Linked DNA regions of Homo sapiens: regions 1, 2, 3 and 4 are each linked to region 5. Evidence: promoter capture Hi-C in 16 types of primary human blood cells and fetal thymus (Javierre and others, 2016). All regions are on one chromosome and are shown on one strand. Each heading gives the region's core, a stretch centred on a gene start or on the middle of the fragment in contact. The rest is flanking DNA. Distances are from core to core; before and after follow the strand shown. Region 1 overlaps CLP1 (cleavage factor polyribonucleotide kinase subunit 1). Region 2 has its middle 7.8 kb from the start of SERPING1. Region 3 overlaps ZDHHC5 (zDHHC palmitoyltransferase 5). Region 4 has its middle 13 kb from the start of MIR130AHG. Region 5 holds the start of RTN4RL2 (reticulon 4 receptor like 2).

Region 1 (5,280 bases), core at 361-2,860, 200 kb before region 5:
CCCAAAGTGCTGAGATTACCGGTGTGAGCCACAGTGCCCGGCCTGATATTGGCATTTTCTACCTGTAAGCCATGTTTCTTTAAGATGAAGTCAGCTTTCATTTTTCTGTTGCAATATTTTTCTTGGATTTTTAGACTTCCTGATTTCCTCCACAAATTAGGCATTTTTATTTTCCTTTCAGCTGTCTAAGAACTTGTAAATAGTGGTGTCTCTTGGCTAGACAGTGCTAAATGGAAAAAAAAAATCAGTCTTCCACCATCCAACCAAACTAAACTCCCCTGGGATACTAACTTGGATTGCCAAGCTTTGTTAGGTGGATGAGCACTAACAGAGGTATAATCACTATCCCAAAGTTGAAAGACAGAGATTCCACTTGTCCAGTTTTCCTTGGGATCACTCAAGATATTTCTTGGAAAGAACGTTTAATAGAACATATGGTTTAAAGTGCCAGCTACTTCTGAAAAGTATCCAGAGTAAAATCTAGGCTAAAACAGTATGATATCCAGACCACCCAAACTTTAAATTACTTTAATATGTTAATGGCTTCTCTCATCTGCGCATCTTTGTTCATCTTGCTCACCACACTCTTCGGCTGCCTGGACTTAGACCCTCAGTAGCATGGGCACCTAAGCACACAGAAAGCTAGAACATGCATTTCCCAATTTTTGTGTTTTTAGGGTTTCACCATGTTGGCCAGGGTAGTCTCCAACTGCTGAGCTCAAGTGATCTGCCTGCCTCGACCTCCCAAAGTGCTGGGATTACAGGTCTGAGCCACTGCTCCTGGTCAACCTCTTTGTGTTTAAATACTGCTCTTTCCTCCTGTCCTTGTGAAATGTCTCTGTATGTGTTAAAGGGTAGTTCTTCCCTTTGTGCTGTGGATCCTATCTCCTTCGCTCCTGCATTTTTTCTGGTGCTGGGGGATGGAGTCTTGCTCTGTTACCCAGGCTGGAGTGCAGTGACGCGATCTCAGCTCACTGCAACCTCCGCCACCCATGGACAATTAATAGCTCATATTTAACACTGCCAAAAACCTCGAGTTTCCCTTGTCCCTCAGGGGGACAACTCCCTGAGTTTTCCCAATCTCATGTCTAACCTAGTGTGTCTTGTTAAAAAAAATCCAGGATGCATCCTTGATTCCATCGTTTTCCTCACCACTCCGTTATGAAGTCCTGCCTTCAGAATATCCTCTCACCAGCTCTACCTCTGCTGCCCTAGTATTTCATCCCCCACCATTTCTCACATTTGCACTTTTACAAAACTCTCCTAATTACTGTCCTTGCTTTTACACTTGCCCTATAACCCACTCTCCACAAAGCAGTGATCTTTTCAAAATGTAAAGTAATCAGCCAGGCTAATCCCAGCACTTTGGGAGTCCGAGGCGGATGGATCACTTGAGGTCAGGAGTTCGAGACCAGCCTGGCCAACATGGCAAAACCCCATCTCTACTAAAAATACAAAAATTCGCCAGGCATGGTGGTGCATGCTACTCAGCTACTCAGGAGGCTGAGGCAGGAGAATAACTTGAACCCAGGAGGCAGAGGTTGCAGTGCACCGAGGTCATGCCACAGCACTCTAGCCTGGGCAACATAGCAAAACTCAGAAGGAGGGAAGGAAAGGGGGAGGGAAGGGGAGGAGAGAGGAGAGGAGGTGAGGGAAGGAAAGGAAAGGAAGGAATAGGAAGGAAGGGGAAGGAATGAAAAAGAGAAGAAAAAAGAGAGAAGAAAAAGAGAGCAGGAAGGAGGGAGAGAGGAAAGAGGAAAGGAAAGGAAAGGAAAAGAAAGGAAAGGAAGAAAGAAAGAGGGAAGGGAGGGAGGAGATCAGCCGGGCGTGCTGGCTTACGCCTGTAATCCCACACTTTGGGAGGCCTAGGCGGGCGGATCACCTGAAGTCGGGAGTCGGAGACAAACCTGACCAACACGGAGAAACCCCATCTATACTAAAAACACAAAATTAGCCGGGCATGGTGGCGCATGCCTGTAATCCCAGCTACTCGGGAGGCTGAGGCAGGAGACTCGCTTGAACCTGGGAGGTGGAGGTTGCACTGAGCCAGATTGCGCCATTGCACTCCAGCCTGGGCAACAAGAATGAAACTCTGTCCCCCCCCAAAAAAAAAAAGATCAAATAATTACTCTACTTAACTACCCCTCCCCTCTGGTTCCCATTGCTCTTAAGAGTAAAATCCATTCTTAAACCAGGTGCTGTGGCATGAGCCTGTAGTCCCAGCTACTCAGGAGACTAAGGTGGGCGGATCACTTAAGCCCAGAAGTTCAAAGCCAGCTTGGGCAACATAGTGAGACACGCCCCATCTCTTTTTTTTTTTTTTTTTTTTTGAGTCAGAGTTTCGCTCTTATTGCCTAGGCTGGAGTGCAGTGGCGTGATCTTGGCTCACGGCAACCTCCACCTCCCGGGTTCAAGCAATTCTCTTGCCTCAACCTCCCAAGTAACTGGGATTACAAGCATGTGCCACCACGCTCAACTAAATTTTTTTTGCATTTTTAGTAGAGATGGGGTTTCACCATGTTGGTCAGGCTGGTCTCGAACTCCTGACCCCAAGTGATCCAGCCACCTCAGCCTCCCAAAGTGCTGGGATTACAGGCATGAGCCACCACGCCCGGCTGAGATCCCTATCTCTTAAAAAGAAATAAAAAATCCTTTTCTTTTTTTGAGACAGAGTGTCCTTCTGTCACCTAGACTGGAATGCAGTGATGCAATCTCGGCTTTCTGCACCTCCACCTCTTGGGTTCAAGGGATTCTCAGACTCCTGAGTGGCTGGGGTTAAAGGCATGGCCACCACCCATGGCACCTGGGCCAAAAAATCCATTCTTCACCGTGGTTTACAAAAGCCCTACATTATCTGGTCTTTGCTGCCCCCTCCAGCCTCATCTTGTACAGTCTTTCTTGGTTCACTAAGCTTCAACCACACTGGCTTTTCTCTTCACCAAACTCATCAAGCTTGTTCCTTTATTAGGGTTTTGCAGTTTTTTCTCACCAGGAAGGTTTTGCCCCAGACTTCACACAGCCATTCAAGTCTTAGCCCAAAATGTATGCTCAGGAAGGGCCTTTCCTGACCACCCAATCTAAAGTAGCCTCCAGTCACTCTGTCTCATATCCCCCAAATTTAAGTCTCTGCATAGCACTTGCCTTTTTAAATTTGTTTATTCTATAATGTAAGCTCCATAAAACTTTTGTCTGTCTTGTTCCCCATCTACAGTGGCTCCTGACAAACAGTCAGTCCTCAGTAAACATTTATGAAAAGAAGGAATGGATGAATGGCATCAGATACTTAAGTAATCCAAGTGCAAACCAGGGACACCAAACAGTCATTTGCAAGAGATCAAAAAGAATGGGCTTTCCCAGTTTCTTACCACCTGAAAGCTTAAGTTACACTTTGACTTAGGGCCTAGTTCCAATCAAATAGACAAGGATAGCTGTACTGGAAGGAAAATGAGCTATCTCTGGAAAATGATTAGATATGAAATCTCATTCCAAGATTATCACCAGCCTCTAACTCCCCACAGTAAATCCAGCACTGACAGCAGATTTACCATCTACTTACCTAAGCGCAGAGGAAAGGTGAACTATCATAAGAACTCACAGCCGGGCACAGTGTCTCACACCTGTAATCCCAGCATTTTGGGAGGCCGAGGCAGGCAGATCATGAGGTCAGGAGTTTGAGACCAGCCTGGCCAACATAGTGAAACCCTGTCCCTACTAAAAGAAATACAAAAAATTAGCTGGGCGTGGTGGCGGGCACCTGTAACCCCAGCTATTTGGGAGGCTGAGGCAGGAGAATCACTTGAACCTGGGAGGCAGAGGTTGCAGTGAGCCAAGATCACGCCACTGCACTCCAGCCCAGGTGACAGTGTGAGACTCTTACAAAAACAACCACCACCACCACCAAAAAAAAAAACCTGACGTGGCTCACAGGTAGGTTTCTTGGTTTTCCCCTCCTCCAAGCATTTTAGCAATAAATCATTCCAATTATGTTTCTATAACGCTTAGGGGAAAAAAATAAATTATACCAACTTCTATGATATGGCAAAAATATTTATTAAAATGATTTTTTTTAAGTTTGAACTTTATTGGAAGGAGTCCCTCTAATTCACACTTTCATCCTAGATAAATGGGTAAGAACCACATATGGAATATAAAGCATTGATTTTTTAAAAACCACATAGTAGCACAGTGAAAGAAATGCAATTCTCCAGGGTCTTAGAGAATTCAAAGTGGCATCTTAGGTGGTCTAAGAAACCAATTACAGTCTCATGGTTTTCCTTTTGGTTCAAGATTAGAAGAGTCAGGTTACCACTACCTGTTTTTAGAGGTAGAATATGAACTTTCTACTAGTCCACAGTTTACTGGTCAGGTGGCCCCAACAGTCTTTTATCTCAGCCCATCTGCCTCTAGGGGTGGCCAGATGATCTCTATGTCCCAGGCAGCAAGGCTTCCTGCTGATCTCTACTTCAGATCCATGAACCGGATATCCATGATGAGAAGGAAGTTCTTAGGCAGTGGGCGAGGGGCTGGAGACAGAACAGTAAACACCTGATGCTCCAGGTCCACACTGGTCACCACAATGAAGCCAGCTACACTTGTCTCGGACAGGTTCTCCTCTGTACCCTCGGCAGTGCTAACACTCAGTAGGTGGTGCACCATATCTCGCCCAGGAGTGACAGGTACTAGCTTGAGCTGATTATCCTCTTGAGACATGCCCAAAGGTAAACAGGAGTCTGGGATGGTGGGTGCCCCAACTTTGTAGATTTTCACATCTGAAAATTTGACATTGAAGGCATGGGGATAGAAACAGCCTCGGAATCCATAAAAATACTCACGGATACGCTCATCCCTACATTCCCGCCGGAAGTCCTTGGAGCGCTCCACCACACCCCCAGATTTAGGGAGCAGCACAGTGCGTACAAAGTGGGGGAGGTCCCGTTTCAGTTCATTGTACAGTCGTTCTTGATCCAGAACAACAACGACATCCACCTCAAAAGCTGAGGCTGCATGCACCAGAGCCTGGTAACCAGAGCCCTTGACCCAGCCACAGGTGTTAATGACACAGCCACTCACAGATGCCCTTCGGTTCACCTCACACCTTTGGTTGAACACATCTGCTAAACGAGATGTAATCTGCAAAAGAGAGGATCAAGGTAAGAACAAAAACACCCAGACAAACCCATGGCTACTTTGTTCCTCTTTAGAATAAGTGCTATTAGATATAAGAAAAATGATTTTTTTTTTGAAATGGAGTCTCACTCTGTTGCCCAGGATGGAGTGCAG
Region 2 (5,501 bases), core at 1,394-3,893, 130 kb before region 5:
ATCCCAGCACTTTGGGAGGCTGAGACAGGGGGATTGTTTGAGCCCAGGAGTTTGAGAGCAGCCTGGACAACATGGTAAAACCCCGTTTCCACAAAAAATAAAAAAAATTAGCCAGGCTTGGTGGCTCATGCCTGCAGTCCCAGCTACTCAAGAGGCTGAGGTGGGAGGATTGCTTGAGCCTAGGAGTTCGAGGCTGGAGTGAGCCGTGATCACACCACTGCACTCCAGCCTGGGCGACAGAACAAGACCCTGTCTAAAAAAAAATTAAATGATTCTTTCAAAGTTATTGCTACAAAGTCATATACGTGCTTTGTAAAACTTTTCTGGCTGGGCGTGGTGGCTCACGCCTGTAATCCCAGCACTTTGGGAGACCCAAGTGGATGGATCACCTGAGGTCAGGAGTTCAAGACCAGCCTGGCCAACATGGTGAAACCCCGTCTCTACCAAAAATACAAAAATTAGGTGGACATGGTGGCACATGCCTGTAATCCCAACTACTCGGGAGGCTGAGGCAGGAGAATCGCTTGAACCCAGGAGGTGGAGTTTGCAGTGAGCCGAGATCGTGCCATTGCACTCCAGCCTGGGCAACAAGAGCAAAACTCTGTCTAACAAAACAAAACAAAACAAAACAAAACGTTTCTAACAATTCAGACACTTACAAAATTAAAAGTTACCACAGACAAAACTGCTGTTAATAATTCTGAGTGTATGCTTTTATATTTGCCTATTTATAAAATCATATCTACTTCATCTCTCCCCACACACATAATTATTACTCTTCCATAATTTCTTTTCTTTTTTTTGAGACGGGAGTCTTGCTCTGTCACCCAGGCTGGAGTGCAGTGGCCCTATCTCGGCTCACTGCAAGCGCTGTCTCCAGGGTTCACGCCATTCTCCTGCCTCAGCCTCCCGAGTAGCTGGGACTGCAGTCGCCCGCCACCACTCCCGGCTAATTTCTTTTGTGTTTTTAGTAGAGAGGGGGTTTCACCGTGTTAGCCAGGATGGGTCTCGATCTCCTGACCTCGTGATCCACCCGCCTCGGCCTCCAAAAGTGCTGGGATTACAGGCATGAGCCACTGTGCCTGGCCTAATTTCTTTTCTTAATAAAGTAGCATGGGCATTGTTCCATGTCACTGCAGGCAGCTCTATCTCATTCTTTCTTACAGCCGCACGGTATTCCATTGTATGGATGTATTACAAACTATTTCTTTGATCTCACCCTGAGAGAGACATTTGGATTGATTCCCAAACCAATCCCCTTAACTACATGCCGGTTCCAGAAGTTTCCCTCTCACTTACTATCTTTTCCACTTCTTGCACAGCAGCGTACCTGCTTTCTCTGCTACCTTTCTATTTCTAGCCTTTGTTTCCAATTCTCCGTTGCCAGCTCTGTAGATGGAAGCGCTAGGTTTGGACTGTTGACTCAGCTGTGAATTTGGCTCCATTCAGATTGTGGCCCCTTGCTTTGACCTGCTGTTTCTGCTTCCATGCACCTCTCCTGAGGGTAAAAATGCCTGCTCCACTTCCAGAAAAGCCAAAATTCACCTTGCGTTCCTCAATGCCTGTTGAGAAACAGGGAGCCACCCTCCTTGTTCTGCCCAACTTGAACATGAAGCCCCATGGTCACTTCTCCAGTTACAGACTTTTCTTTTCTTTTCTTTTCTTTTTTTTGGAGACAGAGTCTTGCTCTGTTGCCCAGGCTGGAGTGCAGTGGCATGATCTCGGCTCACTGCAAGCTCCGCCTCCCAGGTTCACGCCATTCTCCTGCCTCAGCCTCACAAGTAGCTGGGACTACAGGTGTCTGCCACCACGCCCAGCTAATTTTTTTTTTTTTTTGTATATTTAGTAGAGATGGGGTTTCACGTGTTAGCAGAGATAGAAACCCTGTCTCTACTAAAAATACAAAATTAGCTGGGTGTGGTGGTGCATGCCTGTAATCCCAGCTACTTGAGAGGCTGAGGCGGGAGAATTACTTGAACCAGGGAGGTAGAGGTTGAGCCTGGGCAACAAGAGCAAAACTCTGTCTCAAAAACAACAACAACAAAAAATTGTGACGGCACCATGTTTAAGTTCTGATATTCAGTAGACCAAGTCCTCACATTTTATTCTTCTTCAAGAAGATCTCTGCTATTCTTGATCCCTGAATTTCCATATATACTTAGAATCAGCTTACCAGGCTCCACAAAATAAAAGGGAAAAATATGTTGGGATTTTGACTGGTATTACCTTACATCTATAGATCATTTTGGGAGTGAATTGACATCTTTATAACAGTAAGTCTTCTAATCCATGAACATGTTATAGCTTTCCAACTATTTGGCTCTTCCTTAATGTTTCTCTGCTGGGATTACAGGTGGGAGCCACCACGCCTGGCCTGTTTCTCAATATACTTGTTGATATGTTTAGGCTTTGTGTCCCCACCCAAATCTCATCTTGAATTGTAATCCTCATAAACCCCATGTGTCAAAGGAGAGACCAAGTGGAAGCAATTGAATCATGGGGGCAGTTTCCCACATGCTGTTCTCTTGATAGTGAGTGAGTTCTCACGAGATCTGATGGTTTTATAAGGGGCTCTTCCCTCTTTGCTCAGCACTTCTTCCTGCCACCTTGTGAAGAGGGTTTCTTGCTTCCCCTTCACCTTCTGCCATGATTGTAAGTCTCCTGAGGCCTCCCCAGCCATGCACAACTGTGAGTCAACTAAACCTCTTTCCTTTCGAAATTACCCAGTCTTGAGCAGTTCTTTATAGCAGTGTGAAAACAGACTAATACAGTTATATAGTTTGCTCTGAAGACGTATTCCACCTATTTCTGTTTATTTCCAGGATCTTGATTTTTTTTTTCTGCTATTGAACACAGTGCATGTTTTAGTTCAATCTATGTCATTAAAAAATCATTTTTGTGGCAGGGCACGGTGGCTCATGCCTGTAATCCCAGACCTTTGGGAGGCTGAGGCAGGCAGATCACGAGGTCAGGAGTTTGAGACTAGCCTGGCCAACATGGTGAAACCCTGTTTCTACTAAAAATACAAAAATTAGCCAGACATGGTGGTGTGTGCCTGTAATCCCAGCTACTCAGGAGGCTGAGGAAGGAGAATTGCTTGAACCTGGGAGGCAGAGGTTGCAGTGAGCTGAGATCATGCCACTGCACTCCAGCCTGGGCAACAGAGCAAGACTCTGTCTCGAAAAAAGAAACAATAATTTCTGGGCCTCATTTTCTCTCTCCTTTATGTAACAAGGCCTAGTTTTATCACTGGCCTAAAAGTCTTAGATTTTGTATTTACTTTTCAGTTCCAGGTTCCTTGAACTTGATTGGGTTTAGGTCTTTAATCTTGGGTCCTAATTTGAGCCCTTTATCTCCACCTCAGGTCACTATAGGAGGTGGTAGAAGTTGAAATAGCCTCTCACCCAGAGGGATTAGAGGAGCTTGATCTTTCCCTACATCCAGCCCATCATCAGACCTTTTGGTAGTATCTTCAAAATGTATCCTGAATCCACTCAGTTCTCTCAATCATTGAGGCCATGAACCCAATCTAGCCACAACCATCTCTCACCTGGGCCACTGAATAGCCTCCTGCCTGGTTTCCATGCTTCCACTCTGTCCTTTCCAGATATTCTTCAATCCACAGACAGAATGATAATAACTAATATAATATAATATAATACATGATAATCAATATAAATTGGTTTTCCATGGGAGACCTTTTTTTTTTTTTTTTTGAGACAGGGTCTCGCTCAATTGCCCAGGCTGGAGTGCGGTGGCACAATCTCAGCTCACTGCAACTTCTGCCTCCTGGGTTCAAGCGATTCTCATGCCTCAGCCTCCCAAGTAGCTGGGATTACAGGTGCCCACCACCATGCCAGGATAATTTTTTATTTTTTATTTTTATTTTTTAGTTGAGACGGGGTTGGCCAGGCTGGTCTCACACTCCTGACTTCAGGTGATCCACTCACCTCAGCCTCCCAAACTGCTGGGATTACAGGCGAGCTACCGCACCCAGCCAGGAGACCACTCTTATAAGAAGTCACTTATGAGCCTTTCTCTTCACTCTTGTAATAAAATCTAAACTTTTGACCCTGGCCTACAAGACTAGGTCCAAGCTGACCTCTGCCTCCCTGTCCAACCTCTGCTTGTATTACACAACTCCTCTTATTACATCTAGTGCCTGGCCTTCTGAAAGTTTCTAGAATATCTGTATTAGTCCATTCTCACATTGCTATAAAGAACTACCTGAGACTGGGTAATTTATAAAGAAAAGAGGTTTAACTGACTCACAGTTCCACAGGCTGTACAGGAGGCATTGACTGGGGAGGCCTCAAAAAACTTACAGTCATGGCAGAAGGGCAAAGGGGAGGCAATTGTGTCTCCACATTGCAGCAGGAGAGAGAGCAAGTGAAAGGGGAAGTACTACACACTTTTAAACCATCAGATCTCATAAGAACTCACTCACTATCATGAGAACAGCAAGGGGGAAATCTGCCTCCGTGATCCAATCACCTCTCACCAGGTCCTTCCCCCAACACTGGGGATTATATTCAACAGGAGATTTGGGTGGAGACACAGAGTCAAAGCATATGATTCTGCCCCGACCCCTCCCAAATCTCATGTCCTTCTCATAGTTCAAAATACAACCATGTCTTCCCAGTGGTTCCCCAAAGTCTTAACTCATTCTGGCATTAACTCAAATGTCCAAGTCCTCTGCAGGGGTTGAGAGAATTCAAATAAAAAACAAAACAAAACAAAAAAGTCTAAGTCCAAAGTCTCATCTGAGACAAGGCAAGTCCCTTCCACCTATGAGCCTGTAAAATCAAAAACAAGTTAGTTACTTCCAAGGTACAATGGGGGTACAGGCATTGTGTAAATGCTTCCATTCCAAATGAGAGAAATTGGCCAAAACAAAGAGGCTACAGGCCCCATGCACATCCAAAATCCAGCAGGCAGTTATTAAATCTTAAAGCTCCAAAATAATCTCCTTTGACAACATGTCTCACATCCAGGGCATGCTGGTGCAAGGGGTGGGCTCCCAAGGCCTTGGGCAGCTCCTCCCCTGTGGCCCTGCAGGGTACAGCCCCTGTGGCTGCTTTCACAGGCTGACGTTGAGCACCTGTGGCTTTTCTAGGTGCACAGTGCAAGCTGTTGGCGGGTCTACCATTCTGGAGTCTGGAGGACAGTGGCCCTCTTCTCACAGCTCCACTAGGCAGTGCCCTAGTGGGGACTCTGTGTAAGGCTCCAACTCCACATTTCCCCTCCACACTGCCCTAGTAGAGGGTCTCCAGGAGGGCTGTGCCCTTACAGCAGACTTCTGCCTGGACACCAGGCATTTCCATACATCCTCTGAAATCTAAGTGGAGGTTCCCAAACTTCAACTCTTGCCTTCTGCGCATCCACAGGCCCAGCACAACATGGAAGCTTCCAAGGCTTGGGACTTGCACCCTCTGAAGCAGTGGCCTGAGCTAAAGCCCTTCATGGCAGAAGGGCAAAGGGGAGGCAAGCCTATTTTCACA
Region 3 (5,096 bases), core at 1,808-4,307, 240 kb before region 5:
GACGGAGTTTCACCGTGTTGTTAGCCAGGATGGTCTCGATCTCCTGACCTGGTGATCCACCCGCCTCAGCCTCCCAAAGTTCTGGGATTACAGGCATGAGCCACTGCATCCGGCCTGCTCTGTTTCTTTAAAAATAAATTTTAAATTTTAAAATCTGCACTTAAAAAATGTCTTATTTAGGTTAATATATAGTCCTTCACTCCCTGGGTCTACTTTGAAGACTGATCTTTTTTATTTTTATTCTGCGTTGTCTAGGTAGCACAGAGCTGACAGGCAGCACGAATCTGATCACACACTACAACTTGGAACAAGCCTATAATAAATTCTGTGGGAAGAAGGTGAAGGAGAAGCTAAGTAACTTCCTGCCTGACCTGCCAGGGATGATTGATCTGCCTGGTTCCCATGATAACAGCAGCCTCCGCTCTCTCATTGAGAAGCCCCCTATTCTCAGTAGCTCTTTCAATCCTATCACAGGGACCATGCTGGCCGGCTTCCGCCTCCACACTGGCCCGGTGAGTCCTGTTGGAGGAAGAAGGCAAATGGGGAGGCCTAAACATGGAGATGGTTTTTCTCTCCAAGTCTGTTCCTTCATAATGGAGCAGAATGGATGATAAGAGCAGGAGAGATTTCCTCCCTCTACTCACCTGGACCTTCCTTTGGTTCCTTCAGTTGCCGGAGCAGTGTCGTCTGATGCATATTCAGCCTCCCAAGAAGAAGAATAAGCACAAGCACAAACAGAGCCGTACCCAGGATCCTGTCCCCCCAGGTAAGAAGCAGTTCTATTCAAAGCAAAAAAAAAAAAAAAAAAAAAAAAACCTGACCTTCTGAATCTGGTTTGAACTTCCATAGGTAAACCCAGTTAAGTTCCGTATGGAGCTCTGGACTCCTAAATTCCCCTGAAGAAGAAACCAATGTACTGTGGTCTCTTGGGACTTGGGACAGGGACTCTAGCAGCACCTCTGTATCCTTTCTGGCCATTTGGACAAAAGCAGTTGCCCCGACTTGGGATTTTCCTGTAGTCTTCAGTGGTTCATAACAGTAGAGGATTTTGAGCTTTACAGGTGATAGGTACCTAATGTCTCCTACAGAAACACCATCTGATTCAGATCACAAGAAGAAGAAAAAGAAAAAAGAAGAGGATCCTGAACGGAAAAGGAAGAAGAAAGAGAAGAAGAAAAAGAAGGTAGAGTAGAGGCCTATTGCCACAACCCAGTGAGTTTCCCCAGATCTCACCCCTGTCCTAAATACCCTAGAGTTCTTTGCCTCAAGTTGGACCCAAGATTGAAAACCCAAGGCAGGTTGCAGGTTTCTCCTGTACAGCCTGATCAAAGCCAAGGCTAGTTCCTAGTTGTTCTTACCCTGCTTCTTTCTCCCCCAGAATCGACATAGTCCAGACCACCCAGGTATGGGCAGCTCCCAGGCCAGCAGCAGCAGCAGCCTACGCTAATAGGACCACTGGACTCTTTGCCAGGATGGCTTTTCCTGCTGTACTGAACCTGCTGATAAAAGCTGCCTTCCAGGCTCTTGGACACTGCCTTGGGAGCATCCTGCAGCTGGGACAGAGGCCAGCTCCTGTTGGGCTCAGTTGAGACTAAGTAAATTAGGAGAGAGAGGGACATGCTTTTGTAGGCTCATCCCAGTTGGTTTTCTCATGGACATCTCTTCCTCTCCCAGGAAGCTTACAATTTTCTTCTCTCTCTTTTGTGCAATTTGTCTGATTTAGGACTTGTTCTGTGTTTTCTTTAAAAAAAAAAAAATTACATTTATCAAACTGGCTGAAGTGTGACTGCCTGTTAAGAGGTATGTGCCTTTCTGTGAATCAGGATTTAAGACAAGGCATTCCTAAGACTTGAGGGGATTTGGGTCTTGTCATTACATGATCTCACTAGCAGGCAGGGAACCAACCAAAATGAAAAGTGACCCAAGCTTACTAATACTCCACAGCAGACACGTAACACTCTGCCCATTATGTTGAGAACCAAGCGCCTCGGTGATCTCAGGCTCCATCTGAAGAGCTGATCCAGGTAGGGCTCAACAGTGTATTCTAGGTCAATTTTGTGTCGAAAGAGAATAGCCAACTGAAAACACATGGACAGTCACCCATGTGTTTCAACAAGATTGGTTCTTTAGGTCAGAAGCCTGTGATCTTTTGAGATGAACTTCTGGCAAGCAAAGGTAAAGCTTCCCTTCTCTTTACAAGAACTTTTGACCTGCTTCGGTCCTTAGTTAAGACAATAAAGTTATTTAGCTGATGTGAAAACATTTCTAAAACAGCAACAAAATGTAGCCTAAACCATCAAAATGTGAAAAACAAAAACAAAAAACACTTTTAGTTTTTCCAGCTGGTTAGGTAACTGAAAACATCCATGAGAAAACCTGAATTAATGTAATCTGACTTTAAATTTAACACAGTTAAAATCTGTTGCCGTGAAAGCCAAGGTTGTTCCTGAATCAGTGGGTGGAAAACCACTCATTCAGCTGGTTTAAATCCAGGATTTCAGAATAAGAGTTTGCTGGGTTTTTTTTTTTTTTTTTTTTTTTTTGAGACAGAGTCTTGCTCTGTTGCCCAGGAGTGCAGTGGCATGATCTCGGCTCACGGCAACCTCTGCCTCCTGGGTTCAAGTGATTCTTGTACCTCAGCCTCCCAAGTAGCTGGGACTACAAGTGTGCGTCACCACACCTGGCTAATTTTTGTATATATATATATATATTTTTTTTTTTTTTTTTTTTTTAAATTTTGGAGAAAGAGTCTTGCTCTGTCGCCCATGTTGGAGTGTAGTAGTGCAATCTCAGCTCACTGCAACCTGCACCTCCTGGGTTCAGGTGATTCTCCCACCTCAGCTTCCCAAATAGCCAGGATTACAGGCACCCATAACCAACGCCCAGCTAATTTTTGCATTTTTAGTACAGACGGGGTTTCACCATTTTGGCCAAGCTGGTCTTGAACTCCTGACCTCAGGTGATCCACCTGCCTTAGCCTCCCAAGGTGCTGGGATTACAGGTGTGAGCTACTGCACCCAAATAAGAGTATATATATATATATATATTTTTTTTTTTTTTTTTTTTTTTTTTTTTCCTGAGACGGAGTCTTGCTCTGTCACCCAGGCTGGAGTGCAGTGGCGTGATCTCGGCTCACTGCAAGCTCCGCCTCCCAGGTTCACGCCGTTCTCCTGCCTCAGCCTCCCAAGTAGCTGGGACTACAGGCGCCCGCACCACGCCAGGCTAGTTTTTTGTTATTTTTAGTAGAGATGGGGTTTCACTGTGTTAGCCAGGATGGTCTCGATCTCCTGACATTGTGATCAGCCCGCTTCGGCCTCCCAAAGTGCTGGGACTACAGGCGTGAGCCACCACGCCCGGCTAAGAGCTTATATTCTTAAATTTTGAGTAATTAAAGGGCTCTGGTCAACTGCTTGAGATTTAGTGTCTAAGGATACCTATTTAAAATTAGAGCACAGCTTTTGTCCAATAAAATGCAATATATCTAATTGAACTGACACCGATATCTAGTTAACCTGCCTTCAACAGGCTTTCATACCTGTTACTATGTCACCTTTGGCTGTTTCCAAAATTAGCTTTACTTTCCAGAGACTAAATCCTGTATTAAAAAACAACTGTAGCTGGGCATGGTGGCTCATGCCTGTAATCCCAATGCTTTGGGAGGCCAAGGCAGGATTGCTCAAGGCCAGAAGTTCGAGATCAGTCTGGGCAAAATTGGTTGAGAGTCTATCTCTACCAAAAAAAAAAAAATTAGCTAAGCATGGTGGCATGCAACTGTAAGTCCTAGCTTCACAGAAGGCTGAGGTGGGAAGATCCCTTGAGCCCAGGAATTTGAGGATATAGTGATCTGATTGTGCCACTGCCCTCCAGCCTGGGCAACCAGAATGAGGCCCTGTCTCTTGAAAGAAACAACTTTTAAGAGTTCTCTAAGCTTTCAAATAACAAGCAGTTTTGGTGATTTCAAGAGACCTTTTTTCAGGAATTTTTGAATTAAATCACCCAAATAAAAACAGGACCTGTTGTTTTTAGAAATGGAGTCTCTATGTTGCCCAGGTTGGTCTGGAACTCCTGGGCTCAAGTGATCCTCTTGCCTCAGCCTCCCTCAGTGCTGGGATTACAGGTATAAGCCACCGCACTGGGTCTCTTTTTTATTTTTTTAGTTGTTAAGTGGCTAATTTCATTATAGTCTTGCCTAAAGATGGGCTGGGACCAGAGAAGTTTATGAGGTTGTCACTGATAACTTCCCACCAGAGATCGTTCACCCTGTCTCAACCAGACAAAATAACACAAGTCAGGGGGCGCTGGTTAGATCAGGATTTCTTTTTATTCCTCGTTGGTTTAAAATGGCTAATCAGAATAAAAAATAAAAGGGCCTCTTTGTGGAGGCTGGGATCTCCCCTATTTAGAGGTTAGAACCCAGGTATCCCCTCTACCCAGCACCATAGTGAGGTGGGCTGAGGGGTAACCCCCAAGGGACAATCGGAGGGGCCTAGGCCTGCCACTCCTTCTCTCTATCCCCCGTTTTTGGCATGTGATGAAAAATATTGCTTTTTGGATTCTTCTCTCCTGGCCTTGGATTTTAAAATCAAGTTAACTGTGTAAGCTAGGGGAGGCTCCAAGGGGCCAGTAGGAGCACACTCTAATCCCTCTCCCCCAAGGAGGGGATTATCCAATATTGTTTGAGCTAGGCCAAGTTATTTTCCTGATCTCCCACCACCACCAGTGTCTTGAAGTTTTGACCCCTTTCCTAGGGAAACTAAATGCCAATGAGCCTAGAAAACTAATTCTCCTCTCCAAGTCCTTCCCTCTTGTGACCAAAATTCCAGACTCACCTCTCCCCAGGCTTCTTCCTAATCACACTTAGCACCAGCAGAGGATGCTATTTCCGTAGTTAGTAACTGGGACAAATGAGAGGGAACCACAGGAAAAAGACTGACGTCTCCCCTCTTTTCCTGCTGGTCTGAGGAATGGGAAGAGTAAGATCCCCCTCCGTATATGTATCCCTCCCTCATTTTCCCATCCCAGGATAGATATATAATTTCTTTGATATTTATAATATATATATATATATATTATATGTACACACACACCTGGTAACG
Region 4 (5,691 bases), core at 1,518-4,017, 170 kb before region 5:
CTAATTTTTGTATTTTTAGTGGAGATGGGATTTCGCCATGTTGGCCAGGCTGGTCTCCAACTCCTGACCTCAAGTGATCCGCCCTCTTCGGCCTCCCGAAGTGCTGGGATTACAGGTGTGAGTGACCACACCTGGCCTAATTTTTGTATTTTTTTAGTAGAGACAGGGTTTTGCCATGTTGGCCAGGCTGGTCTCGAACTCCTGGCCTCAGGTGATTTGCCCTCCTCAGCCTCCCAAAGTGCTGGGATTACAGGTGTGAGCCACCATGCCTGGCCCCTAGTATTTAGATAATGCTTCCTAAACATTATTGGATCACGGACACTTAAAAAAAAAAAGCTGATGAAACCTATGGGTGACTCTTTCTAGAAAAATGTTTTTTGTTTTTTTTTTGTATTACGGTATTGATATGGTTTGGCTCCCTGTCCCCATTGAAATCTCATGTTGAATTATAATTCCCAGTGTTGGGGGAGGAACCTGGTGGGAGGAGATTGGATCATGGGGGTGGATTTCCCCCTTGCTGTTCTGGTGATAGTGATTGAGTTCTCACAAGATCTGATGGTTTAAACTTGTGTAGCCTTTCTCCCCTTGCTCTCTCTCTCTCCTGCCACCATGTGAAGAAGGAGCTTGTTTCCCCTTCGACTTCTGCCATCATTGTACATTAACTAAGGCCTCACAGTCATGCTTCCTGTTAAGCCTGTAAAACTGTGAGTCAATTAAACCTCTTTTCTTCATAAATTACCGAGTCTTATGTAGTTCTTTATGGCAATGTGAGAATGGACTAATACAGGTATACATCTCAAGGGGATCGTGAACCCTCTGGAGTTCATTCACATACCACTGCCCCCAACACACGCTCTAATCTCCTCCAGGTCAGAACTTCTTCAAGAGGATACATTCCAAACTTCTTAGCATGGAACTCAAGGCCTTCCAAACTTATTCCGAGTTGCCTGTCTAGCTGCACCTACCACCTGTGCTGTTATGATTATTTTGTGTCTAATTCCTCATCAGACCAAGATGCTCCCTGAGAGCAGAGATTGTGCCCTTTCATTTTTCCTTTTTACATTTCCCCAGATCAAATGAAAGTTTCTCAGGAGGAGTAATCTGAACCCTTGGCCTAGCTAGAAAAATCGTTGATTGACTGCTAGACATGACTAATTTCCAGCCAGCCAGAGGGTTTTAGGGTCATGAGCCTAGTGAATATAACTACAATGTTCTATTCTCCAAATATATTTGGGGAGAGCTTTGATTCAAAATTTTCAGTTTTAGCGGATCCCATAAATATGGAGACTTCTGAGACCTTGTGCCATGATTTTAGTTTAGAAAATGTAGGTCCTCAGTGGTGAACTTACCACATTTGCCAGTTAATTAGTGCCAGGGATCTCTTTTTGGTAGCTACAGCTCTTTGGACCCTGGAGAAACTGAAAGAACTAGTCTGGTTTGTGGATTCTTAGGAGAATTTACTGATTTCATAATGTAGCCCTGACCTAATCCCAAACCCCAAGATAAGCCAGGGCAGGACTGTCTCCCACATTACTCCAAAGTGGACATTCTAAGGAAATCTTAGGCAAGAGAAAATCAGTCTTCCACGGCCACATTTCAAAATTTTCCCCACATTTCAATTGTTTTCCCACATCCCCTACACACACTGGGACACTTCATATCACATGGAGAGAAGTGAAGGGAGACATTACCAGTCCATTAAAGTTCAGAGAACAAGAGCTCTGTCTTGTTGAACAGTTTGTCCGCTGCCACAACAGTGCCTAGCACAAGTAAGTACTCAATTAAAACTTGAATAAATGAATGGGAAAATGGCAGAAGTCCTGACCTCAGAGGATCCACCCGCCTTGGCCTCCCAAAGTGCTGGGATTACAGGTGTGAGCCACCACACCTGGCCTCTTAAAAAAAAAAAATAGGACTTTAGGAGGCTGAGGCGTGCGGATCATAAGGTTAGGAGTTCGAGACCAGCCTGGCCAATATGGTGAAACCCCGTCTCTACTAAAAATACGAAAATTAGCTGGGCGTGGTGGTGGGCGCCTGTAGTCCCAGCTATTCGGGAGGCTGAGGCAAGAGAATTGCTTGAATCCAGGAGGCGGAGGTTGCAGTGAGCCGAGATCGCAACACTGCACTCCAACCTGGGCGACAGAGCAAGATTCCATCTCAAAAAAAAAAAAATTAAAATAGCTGGGCATGGTGGTGCGGGCCTGTGGTCCCAGCTACTCAGGAAGCTGAGGTGGGACCTGAGCTTGAGCCCAGGACCTCAAGGCTGCAGTGATCTATGATTGAGGCAGGAGAATAGGGCCTGGAGGCAGAGAACCTAAGGACTTTCTAGAACTAAATCAAATGGAAACACTTCAGCTGTGACAGGAAATATCCTCTTGTTTACATAGGGTGTACACAGAGTAAATGACTTTGTAACTTTCCTTCATCCTCTTCATTTACATAAGGCGTACACCAAGTAACCAATGGAAACCTCGGCTCACTGCAACCTTGGCCTCCCAGGTTCTAGCGATTCTCCTGCTTCAGCCTCTTGAGTAGCTGGGATTACAGGTGTGCACCACCACACCTGACTAATATTTGTATTTTTAGTAGGGATGGGCTTTCTCCATGTTGGCCAGGCTGGTCTTGAACACATGACCTCAGGTGATCCACCCGCCTTGGCCTCCCAAAGTTCTGGGATTACAGGCGTGAGCCACCGCACCTGGCCAGTAGATAATATGTATAAATTAGTGGAAAGCAAGAAGGCCTCTAGGACGATAACAAAGTATAGATTCTCTTTAGACGGCCTATTTGAGTAGATAAGGCAATTCACAGGGCTGTGGCCTTGTTTAATCCTAGAACAATTCCAGACTCCAGGTGCTTACTTACTTAAAGGGTAAGAATCATCTTCACCCCTTCTGACTAAAGCCATGGAGTCCTGATCCCAAGAATCAAAGACACGGGGCAGCAGGGAGGAGGAAAGAACATCCAAACACAGAGGTATAATTCCTCTAGTTGAAAGATAATTTGTAAGGCAAAACCCTAGCTGATAATGACTATGAGAAGCTATGCTTTGGTATTCCTAGCTCCACCAGTCTCCAGAGGAGATACATAAAATAAGAATAACATTAATGTCATCATTGTAAAATAAAAAACTTTGCTTGGCCATGTGCGGTGGCTCACACTTGTAATCCCAGCACTTTGGGAGGCTGAGGCGGGTGGATCATCTGAGGTCAGGAGTTTGAGAGCAGCCTGGCCAACGTAGTGAAACCCCATCTCTACTAAAAATACAAAAAATTAGCCGGGCATGGTGGCAGGTGCCTGTAATCCCAGCTACTTGGGAGGCAGAGGCAGGAGAATTGCTTGAACCCAGGAGGCGGAGCTTGCAGTGAGCCAAGATTGTGCCAACTCCAGCCTGGGCAACAAGTGCAAAACTTTGTCTCTAAACAAAACGAAACAAAACAAAACAAAACTTTGCTCAAATATAGACACTGCACACTTTGAATCAAAAGTGTTTGCTGACCATTTATAGGCATAGGTGGGACCAGAGATGTCCTGAATCAGATTCACAAGGAGTTTCCTAGTGGTTGGAGGGGAAAGCCAAATATTTGTGTACATGCTACTGATTTTACATGGCAGTGTAAGTTCAGCACTATGTCTAAAGATGGAGGAGGTGCTATTGGCTGGGAAAAGCAGAAAACACTGTTGGAGAATTGCACTGGGCTTAGAAGAATGGCAGCATTTAAATGAACAGGATCTGTAGAGACCAGGCTGGTGGCTCATGCCTGTAATCCCAGCACTTTGGGAGGCCAAGGCGGGCAGATCACTTGAGGTCAGGAGTTCGAGACCAGCCTGGCCAACGTGGTGAAACCCTGTCTCTACTAAAAATGCAAAAATTAGTCGGGCGTGGTGGCGTGTGCCTCTAATCCCAGCTACTTGGGAGGCTGAGGCAAGAGAATCACTTGAACCCAGGAGGCCAGAGGTTGCAGTGAGCTAAGATCGTGCCACTGCACTCCAGTCTGGGCAACAGAGCGAAACTCTGTCTCAATAAATAAATAAATAAATAAATAAATAAATAAATAGGATCTGGAAATGCATTTTTGTTCTGTTTTGTTTTGCTTCATTTTATTTTAGCTAATATGTACTGAGTGTCAACTCTGTAGGTTCCAGGCTCCATGCTCAGAACAGAGGATAATGACAAAAAGATACGGTCCCTGCCTCCTAGGAGATTTTAAAAATTATTTCAGCAAGAGGGCAAGTGTTCTAGTGAGGTTCACTCTGGGCCCCAGAGGAATCGCCAGGAAACTCAGTTCTGATGAAGCAGAGCTAGATGGCCAGGGACTGGGGCTCCAGGCCTGACAGTCTGGCTGTAGCAGCAGAGTAGGAATCGGCTCTGATGCTGCTCCCTGAAGCCAGCCGGCAGACAGGCTCACTGTGACCATGACCACACCATCGTGGTCCATGGACAGGAACCATCCTCACCCTGGTGGTCCTGTTGCCATGCATTTTCTGCTAAGCCCCTAACCCATAGCCCTTGGGAATGGTATTTGGTCTACTATATTAGTCTACTCTGGGACTAATATAGACTTTGGTTCTTTTTATTTATTTATTTTTTGAGACAGGGTCTCACTCTGTTGCCCAGGCTGGAGTGCAGTGATGTGATCTCGGCTCACTGCAATCTCCACCTCCCAGGACTCAGGTGATCTTCCCACCTCAGCCTCCTGAGTACCTGGGACCACAGAGTAGCTGTGTGCACGACCACACCCATCTAATTTTTGTACTTTCTGTGGAGATGGGTTTTTGCCATGTTGCCCAGGCTGGTCTCGAACTCCTGGGCTCAAGCAATCTGCCCACCTCAGCCTCCTGAAGTGCTGGGATTACAGGTGTGAGCCACCACACCTGGCCAACTTCGGCTTTTTAAAAAATTACTATTATAAGCAGACGCGTTCTGCCTTTGTTGCCCAGGCTGGAGTGCAGTACCTATTCTTAGGCACAATCCTGCTACTGATCAGCAAGAAGGTTTTGAAAGACTTTGACTTTTAAGTTGACTTAGGAGACAAGATGAGGAAGAGGTACTTGTGGGACTTCCAAGAGGAAATGCCCAGTCACAGAGCAGGCCCTTTAAACCTAAGATAGTGAATTGGGGCATCCTGGGGTAGGAGAAGGACTGGAGAAGACCCAGGGGTGGGGTATGCAATTAGCAGACCTTGGTTTGAATGTCACCTCTGCCCTTCCCAGCTGAATCATCCTGGGCAAATTTTTTCCTTCCTTCTTTCCTTCCTTCCTTCCTCCCTTCCGTCCTTCCTTCTTTCCTTTCTTCCTTCCTTCTTTCCTTCCTTCCTTCCTTCTTTCATTCCTTCCTTCCTTTCTCTCTTCCTCCCTCCCTCCCTCCCTCCCTTCCTTCCTTCCTTCCTTCCTTCCTTCCTTCCTTCCTTCCTTCCTTCCTTCTCTCTCTCTCTCTTTCTCTCTTTCTTTCTTTCTTTTTTTGAGACAAGGTCTTTCTTTGTCATCCAGGCTGGAGTGCAGTGGTATGAACACAGCTCACTGCAACCTTGACCTCCCAGGCTCAGGTGATCCTCCCAACTGAGCCTCCTGAGTAGTTGGGCCCACAAGCATGTGCCACTACACCCAGCTAATTTTTGTATTATTTTGGTAGAAACAGGGTTTTGCCATGTTGCCCAGGCTGGTCTCAAACTCCTGGGCTTGAGCGATCCT
Region 5 (5,386 bases), core at 1,925-4,424:
GGCCTCCTGTCTCTCCCGAGGACCACGGCTCCACTCCTGGCCTTCATTTTGTGAATTCCCGGTGGAGACTGGGGCAAGATGCACAGAGTATCAGAGCTGGAAAGGGGGATACCTCGGTGGCCACCTAGAGCCGACCCCTCACATCATAGGTAACACCATTGAGGGCTGGGGAGGGGAAGTGTGAGTTTCTGAGCACCCCAGGCCTCCTGACCAGGTCTCTACAGCTCGCCTTCATTGTCTTTCTCAGAAGCCTTCATTTCATCCCTCCACTACTTCATGGACAGAGGAAAGCCCTTTGTAGCAGCCTCCCCCACCCTCTCTGCTCACCCCCTCCTCTAAAGTCAGCAGGGGATGGCTAGAGCTGCAGGGGAGAGTACAGCAGGGTAGGAGGAAACCAAGAAGCACCTATTTTGTCCTAGGCACTGCATTTGTACAGGTTAACTTCTTTATACATTGAACACAACACACATAATCCCCTGGAGGTCAATATTGTGGCCCCCAATTTGCAGATGAAGGAAGGGAGCCCCAGAAACATGACACAGTGGCCTCAGGTCATGCAGCTAGTACAAGGTGGAACCCAGATTGGAAAAGAGGGACATCAAGCCCATGTCAGAGAGACACTCTGATCTTTCTTTAAGAGGTGGCCACATCCTCCGCAGAAACCACGCCTGAATGTGTGAGACACTGCCCTTGAGGTAAAGACAGGAGAGAAATTGCACCCAGGTGCCTAGGGCTGGGCCAGCCACAATGCTGAGTCTGTTTGGCTATTCAGGGTCAAGGCAAGGAAGGGACTCCAGCTCTCTCTGCAACTTTCACCTCCTAGGCTTCCAGTTGCGGTTGTTCTAGAGTAGTGATTACATGTGGGAGTCAAGAAGAGATGACCCCTGTCCAGAATATATGGCCAGAACTGACCAGGGGAGGGAGCCAAGAGAGGCCAGAACATGGTATTGATCCCGGAAGGCTGAAGTGTCCAGAGCCAAAAGTATCTGTTCACTGAGGGACCACTGTCCAGGACTCTGGCTATCAAACCTTGGAGTACCAAGGCTCAGAAACAAAGTTCTCAGCCCACAGGCCACTCTTTGGGCCGGAGGCCCCTGTAGAAGAAGGAACTTGAGGAGAAGAAAACTGGACCCAAAGTAGGGGGCAGGATCCAGGCTACCCACCCACAGGGCAGAGTCGCTGGTGCAGAGTGGTCCCAGGAAAGGATGCTCCCTGGAAAGGCAGCAGAGGCCTCTCGCTCTGGAAGGAGGGGCACAGGGTCCCAGACGAGAAGCAAGGGCTCCACACCCAACGGGCTGCTTCAGGGAAGGGCTGGGGCCTGCGGGCAGATGCTGAGGGGGCAGGGGCTGAGGAGGTGGGAGCTGAGGAGTGGGATGGAGGTGGTGGTGATGCCAGTGACGCAGGGGCCTGGGGAGGCACTGACGCGGGTGACGGAGGTTTAGAGCTGCTGCAAACAGCTTCTCACTCTGCCAGAATGTAACACCCCAAAATAAGCAGCCACCGTGGTGGCGGCAGCGGCTGCAGAATCCAACGTCCAGGCCGGATAAATAAATGGCAGCACAGGAGCCAGCCTGTTTGCCCACCCTCGGAGGCTGTCACTCCCCTTCCAAAGTCCTCACCCTCTGTCCCTCACAGCCACCCCCAGGGCCCTGAGCTCAAAGCACCCCCCATCTGGCCCACCAGCCACTCCCTGAGAGAAGAAATGTGGCAGGCAGGCGCTTTGGGAATGGAGGGCTTCCCACGTGGAAGTGGTTACCAGAAGCCTCTTTGTCTCATCCCTGGGCAGCACCCCCAATCCCCAGTCCCTCTCTCTCAGCCTTTCTCTTCCTCCTCCTCTTCCCTCCTCTCCAGCCCCTCTCCCATCCATGGTTCCCTGTCTCCAACCCTCTTCGCCGGTTCCTGATACCCCTTCTCTAGTCACCATCCCCATCCTTCTCTGGTTTCTGATCTTTCCATTCTCCTTTTCCATTCCAGTCCCCAGGGTCCCAGTCCTGATTCTCTTTCCCGCTACCTCCATCCCAGGATTCTGGGTCCCTGTCCATAGTCTTCTTCCCATCCCTCCCCTGATCTGGTCTTTCCTCTCCTTCCCTCTTCCTTGGTCTTCACCTGGGTCCCACTTCCCTCCACGCTTTTCCCATCTAACCTTTATTCCTTCTCCCCCTCCCCCGCTCCATCTCCCTCCTCCTTTGAGCTTCCCTCACCACTTTCTCCATCTTTGAGTTCTCCTTCCTATCCCTCTCCCCCTGACCCCTCCCCACCCCACCCCCAGTCTCTGGCCCACACCCTTATCTGTCACTCAATCAGTAGAACTATCCTCTTTCTAGCGCCCTCCATCTCTCCTACCAGAGAGGGCCACTTGGATTTCCCTCTGCGCCTCCTACCTCCCCAGACAGCCCCCTACCCACATCTCCTGTCTTCCCAGGTGGCCAGAAAGTGCTGAGGCACCGGGCAGGAGGAGTTGCTGAGTCGGCGCTTCCCCAGCCGGCCCGAGTCCTCAGCGTCCCCCGGAGCAGGTGGAGCGGGGACAGCGGAACCTGAGCCTCCCTCCCCGCTCCGGGCCGGGTCCACCTGCCCCCTGCGTCCCACCTCGGTCACGAGCTCCTCGCACGCGCCCGCGGGCTCCCAGCCAAGTGCCCTCCTGCTGAGAACAGCCCTGGCGGCGGGGGCGCGGCCCCAGCGCTGAGCTTTTCCCCTTCCCCAGGTTACCCCACCTCCCCAACTGCCCCACCCTCAATCCCTGAAAGAGGGGACGCCCTGCTTCTCTCCCCAGGATGCCCTCCGCTCTCCCGCCGCTGGCGTTCTTACCTTGCAGCAGGCGCCTGAGCCCGGGCAGCATCTTGTCTCGATGCTCGGGGGAGGGGGCAGCGGGGGGAGGGCGCTCCCACTCGCTCCCTGAGCCCGCCGGATGCACGGCGGGGACCCCGCGGGGCTCCGGGAGGGCCCGGGAGTCCCCGGGCTGCGTGGCCGGGCCGCGGCGCTCTACCCTGCGCCGCCCGGGCTGCGGGCCTCGGGAGGAGCCATCGGCCCCGACGGGACGGGGCGGGGCGCGACGGGGCGGGGAAGGCTGGGGCTGGCCGTCGACGCCCAGCGCCCGCGCCCCGCTAGCTGCGCTGTCCGCTCGAGAGTCCGTCAGTCCGTCTGTCCGTGTGCCCAGGCTGCTAGCCGAGGGAGAGTGGGGACAGCGAGGAAGCTCTTCCCAACCACCCCCACTCCTTCCCGCACTCGCTGGCTCCTCCCTCGTTTGCTGGCTTGCCGACTTAACCCTTTCTCGACCACTAGGAGGCGGGAGCGGCTTTCTAACCCCCTCCACCCCGCCCCCCTCCCCCCCGCTTAAGCGACCCGGAGGACTGTGTTCGATCGTCCTCGCGGCGCCACTCTTCTAGAGAAATCCCTTCTTGGGGGAATGCGGTAGTTTAGAGGAACGCCGTGGACTTGTCCTGTTCCCCCCTCCCAACTTTCCAGGAGAAGATGAGCTTCTGGGTCACCCCCTCCCCCGCCCCCAGCCGCGTCCCTCGCGCCAGTGTCCCAGCCTCCAGCATTTCTGTCCCCTGGGACAGCTCCAAGATTCCACTTTTCCTTCCACTCCCAGACCTCAAGCCCAGTGTGCGACTATAAGAATAGTATATGCAAGAGTTTGTGCGTGCAAGATCGAGTGCATATGAGCGTGCACGTGCGCGCAAGGATGCTTGTGCAGGTGTGACTCAGGATGCTTGCCCGTTACCCTTTGTACGGGCTTGGGGAAGCGGGGGGGGGGGCACGTGAGTGTGCACACGGGTGAGCCGCTGAAAGTCCGCCAGCGTGCATGTCTGAGCTGGTGGGAAACGTGAGGCTGTGCGAGGTTTTGCGCTTGCGATCTTGGGGATGGGTGGAAAGAAATATGTGCCCGGTGTGTGTATGCCCCTTAGTGCATTTACAAGCGGGTGCGAGATGGGCGCGCGTGCGAGTGTGTGCGTTTTTTTGTGTATGTATGATGTGTCCGGGAGGGGAGACCTTATCTCCCGCGGGGGTGCAGGAGAGGACCCAAAGCTGGGGAGAAGACTGTTGGCTTCGCGTGAACTTCCTCTACCCCCTTTTAAAGAGGGGCGGATTATGGTCTCACTGGAGCCCCTCTGGCCCTTCATGGCCTGGTCACAGGCGGTATCAGCAGACCCATCACCTAGGCACTTCCCTACAAAGGCTGCAGGGCGGTTGACCCAGGTCTTGACTCGGCCCGGCGCGTCCGCGGAGCCGCCCCGGCGTAGGATAGGCTCGGGGCCCTCGGGGGAGCCGCTTCGGGTACGGTGGCCAGGCAGCGCTGGCGGGGTTGGGGCTGCTGGAGCCTCAGGTGCGGCGGTGCCGGGGCTGCTGAGCCCCCTGGGCTGCCGCTCCCGCGAGCACAGAAGCCCCTCGCCCCGCTGCCCGCGCCGCGGCTCCTCCTTTCCTATCCGTGCCAGGGTCCAATGCAGTGCCTGGCATACAGTCGGCTCTTGATAAATGTTGGTCTTATTCTTCCCATTCATTCTCTGCTCCCTCCACGGTCTCTCGTTCTTCTCGCGTTCTCATTCGATTTCTCTGGTTTTCTCCCCCGACTCTTACTCATATTTCGTGGTCTCTGTCTCTCTGTTCCCTCCCTCCCTCACTCTCTCTCGGACCTTTTCTGTCTCTACTCGTCTGTTTCCCTGCCCGGTCTTCTGTCTTTCTCACTGTCTCTCTGTGTCTTCGTCTCTCTCCTCCTCCCCGCGGGGCTCCCTGCGTCTCTGTCTCTCGTCTCTGTGTGTCTCGGTGTCTCTGCCTCCCTTTCTCTCCCCCTCTTCCCCAGTTTCATTCCCAGGCTCCCGGCCCGTGGGCACCTCGGCTCTCGGGTGCCCCCTGCTGGTTCCATTTTCGGACCTTCTCGGCCCCCCAGCTCCTCTCTGTGCCCCTAAATTTCCTTTCCCGCCCCTCTCGTTTTCGGATCAGGTAGAAACAGAAAGAAAAGTCTCTGGGGCTCCCGTCTTCCCTCACCCAGGGCTCCCCCTATTTCCAGGAGGCAGGACAGGACCCTGCGTTTCCCCAGGACCCACCCCGACTAGGGCCTGCGCCTGGGGGGAGGGCCTGGAGGCGGCGGCGGGGAGGGAGTGTTGGGGGTAGCAGGGTGGGGTTTGGCGTCCTTCCCCGGAATGAGCCGCGGCACAATCTGTCGCTGGGTTTGTTTGCCGAGCTGCCTCCGGAGCGCAGTGGGGCTGGCTCCCGGGGAGCGAAATATCACAAGATGCGGAGACAGACGCTGAGGGGCGGGTGGGCGGCGGGCTGACTCAGGTGTGCTGTCATCGGTTCCCGGGGCCCGCGCTCTTCGGGGAGGGGTGGGAGGGGACCCCGGGCCCCCAAGGCAGGCGGAACCCCGAAGCTGGGGGGGAGCTCCTCCTCC

Evidence for each region. The method cuts DNA at HindIII sites, captures the fragments that hold promoters and counts their contacts. A CHiCAGO score of 5 or more calls a contact.
Region 1: a fragment that was not itself captured here is called in contact with the fragment with the promoter of RTN4RL2 in region 5 in 6 of 17 cell types (neutrophils, M0 macrophages, M1 macrophages and 3 more); the score reaches 7.6 in neutrophils.
Region 2: a contact is called between a fragment that was not itself captured here and the fragment with the promoter of RTN4RL2 in region 5, in 1 of 17 cell types (neutrophils). The highest score is 5.8, in neutrophils.
Region 3: a contact is called between a fragment that was not itself captured here and the fragment with the promoter of RTN4RL2 in region 5, in 3 of 17 cell types (neutrophils, M0 macrophages and activated CD4 T cells). The highest score is 6.7, in neutrophils.
Region 4: a contact is called between a fragment that was not itself captured here and the fragment with the promoter of RTN4RL2 in region 5, in 2 of 17 cell types (neutrophils and monocytes). The highest score is 7.4, in neutrophils.

The regions. Positions count from the first base shown.
Region 1 is chr11:57,660,615-57,665,894 of GRCh38, reverse strand. CLP1 (cleavage factor polyribonucleotide kinase subunit 1) reads right to left here. Exons shown (of 3, transcript NM_006831.3): 3 at 4,030-5,130. The coding sequence ends at 4,459. Among named protein-coding and RNA genes, the nearest start is that of ZDHHC5, 4.9 kb to the left of the region's middle. RefSeq lists a silencer at 2,885-2,954. The HindIII fragment of the contact is 2,607 bases long and covers 307-2,913 here.
Region 2 is chr11:57,587,124-57,592,624 of GRCh38, reverse strand. No RefSeq gene overlaps it. Among named protein-coding and RNA genes, the nearest start is that of SERPING1, 7.8 kb to the left of the region's middle. The HindIII fragment of the contact is 5,530 bases long and covers 1-5,408 here.
Region 3 is chr11:57,700,389-57,705,484 of GRCh38, reverse strand. ZDHHC5 (zDHHC palmitoyltransferase 5) reads right to left here. Exons shown (of 12, transcript NM_015457.3): 12 at 4,303-5,096. MED19 (mediator complex subunit 19) reads left to right here. Exons shown (of 5, transcript NM_001317078.4): 2 at 256-512; 3 at 670-766; 4 at 1,089-1,183; 5 at 1,379-1,775. The coding sequence ends at 1,447. Among named protein-coding and RNA genes, the nearest start is that of MED19, 9.3 kb to the left of the region's middle. RefSeq lists an enhancer at 151-1,350. The HindIII fragment of the contact is 1,747 bases long and covers 2,184-3,930 here.
Region 4 is chr11:57,622,898-57,628,588 of GRCh38, reverse strand. No RefSeq gene overlaps it. Among named protein-coding and RNA genes, the nearest start is that of MIR130AHG, 13 kb to the left of the region's middle. The HindIII fragment of the contact is 8,519 bases long and covers 1-5,691 here.
Region 5 is chr11:57,458,316-57,463,701 of GRCh38, reverse strand. It overlaps RTN4RL2 (reticulon 4 receptor like 2), which reads right to left and starts at 3,174. Exons shown (of 3, transcript NM_178570.3): 1 at 2,806-3,174. The coding sequence starts at 2,836. RefSeq lists an enhancer at 924-1,462 and silencers at 2,898-3,167, 4,267-4,326. The HindIII fragment of the contact is 14,932 bases long and covers 1-5,386 here.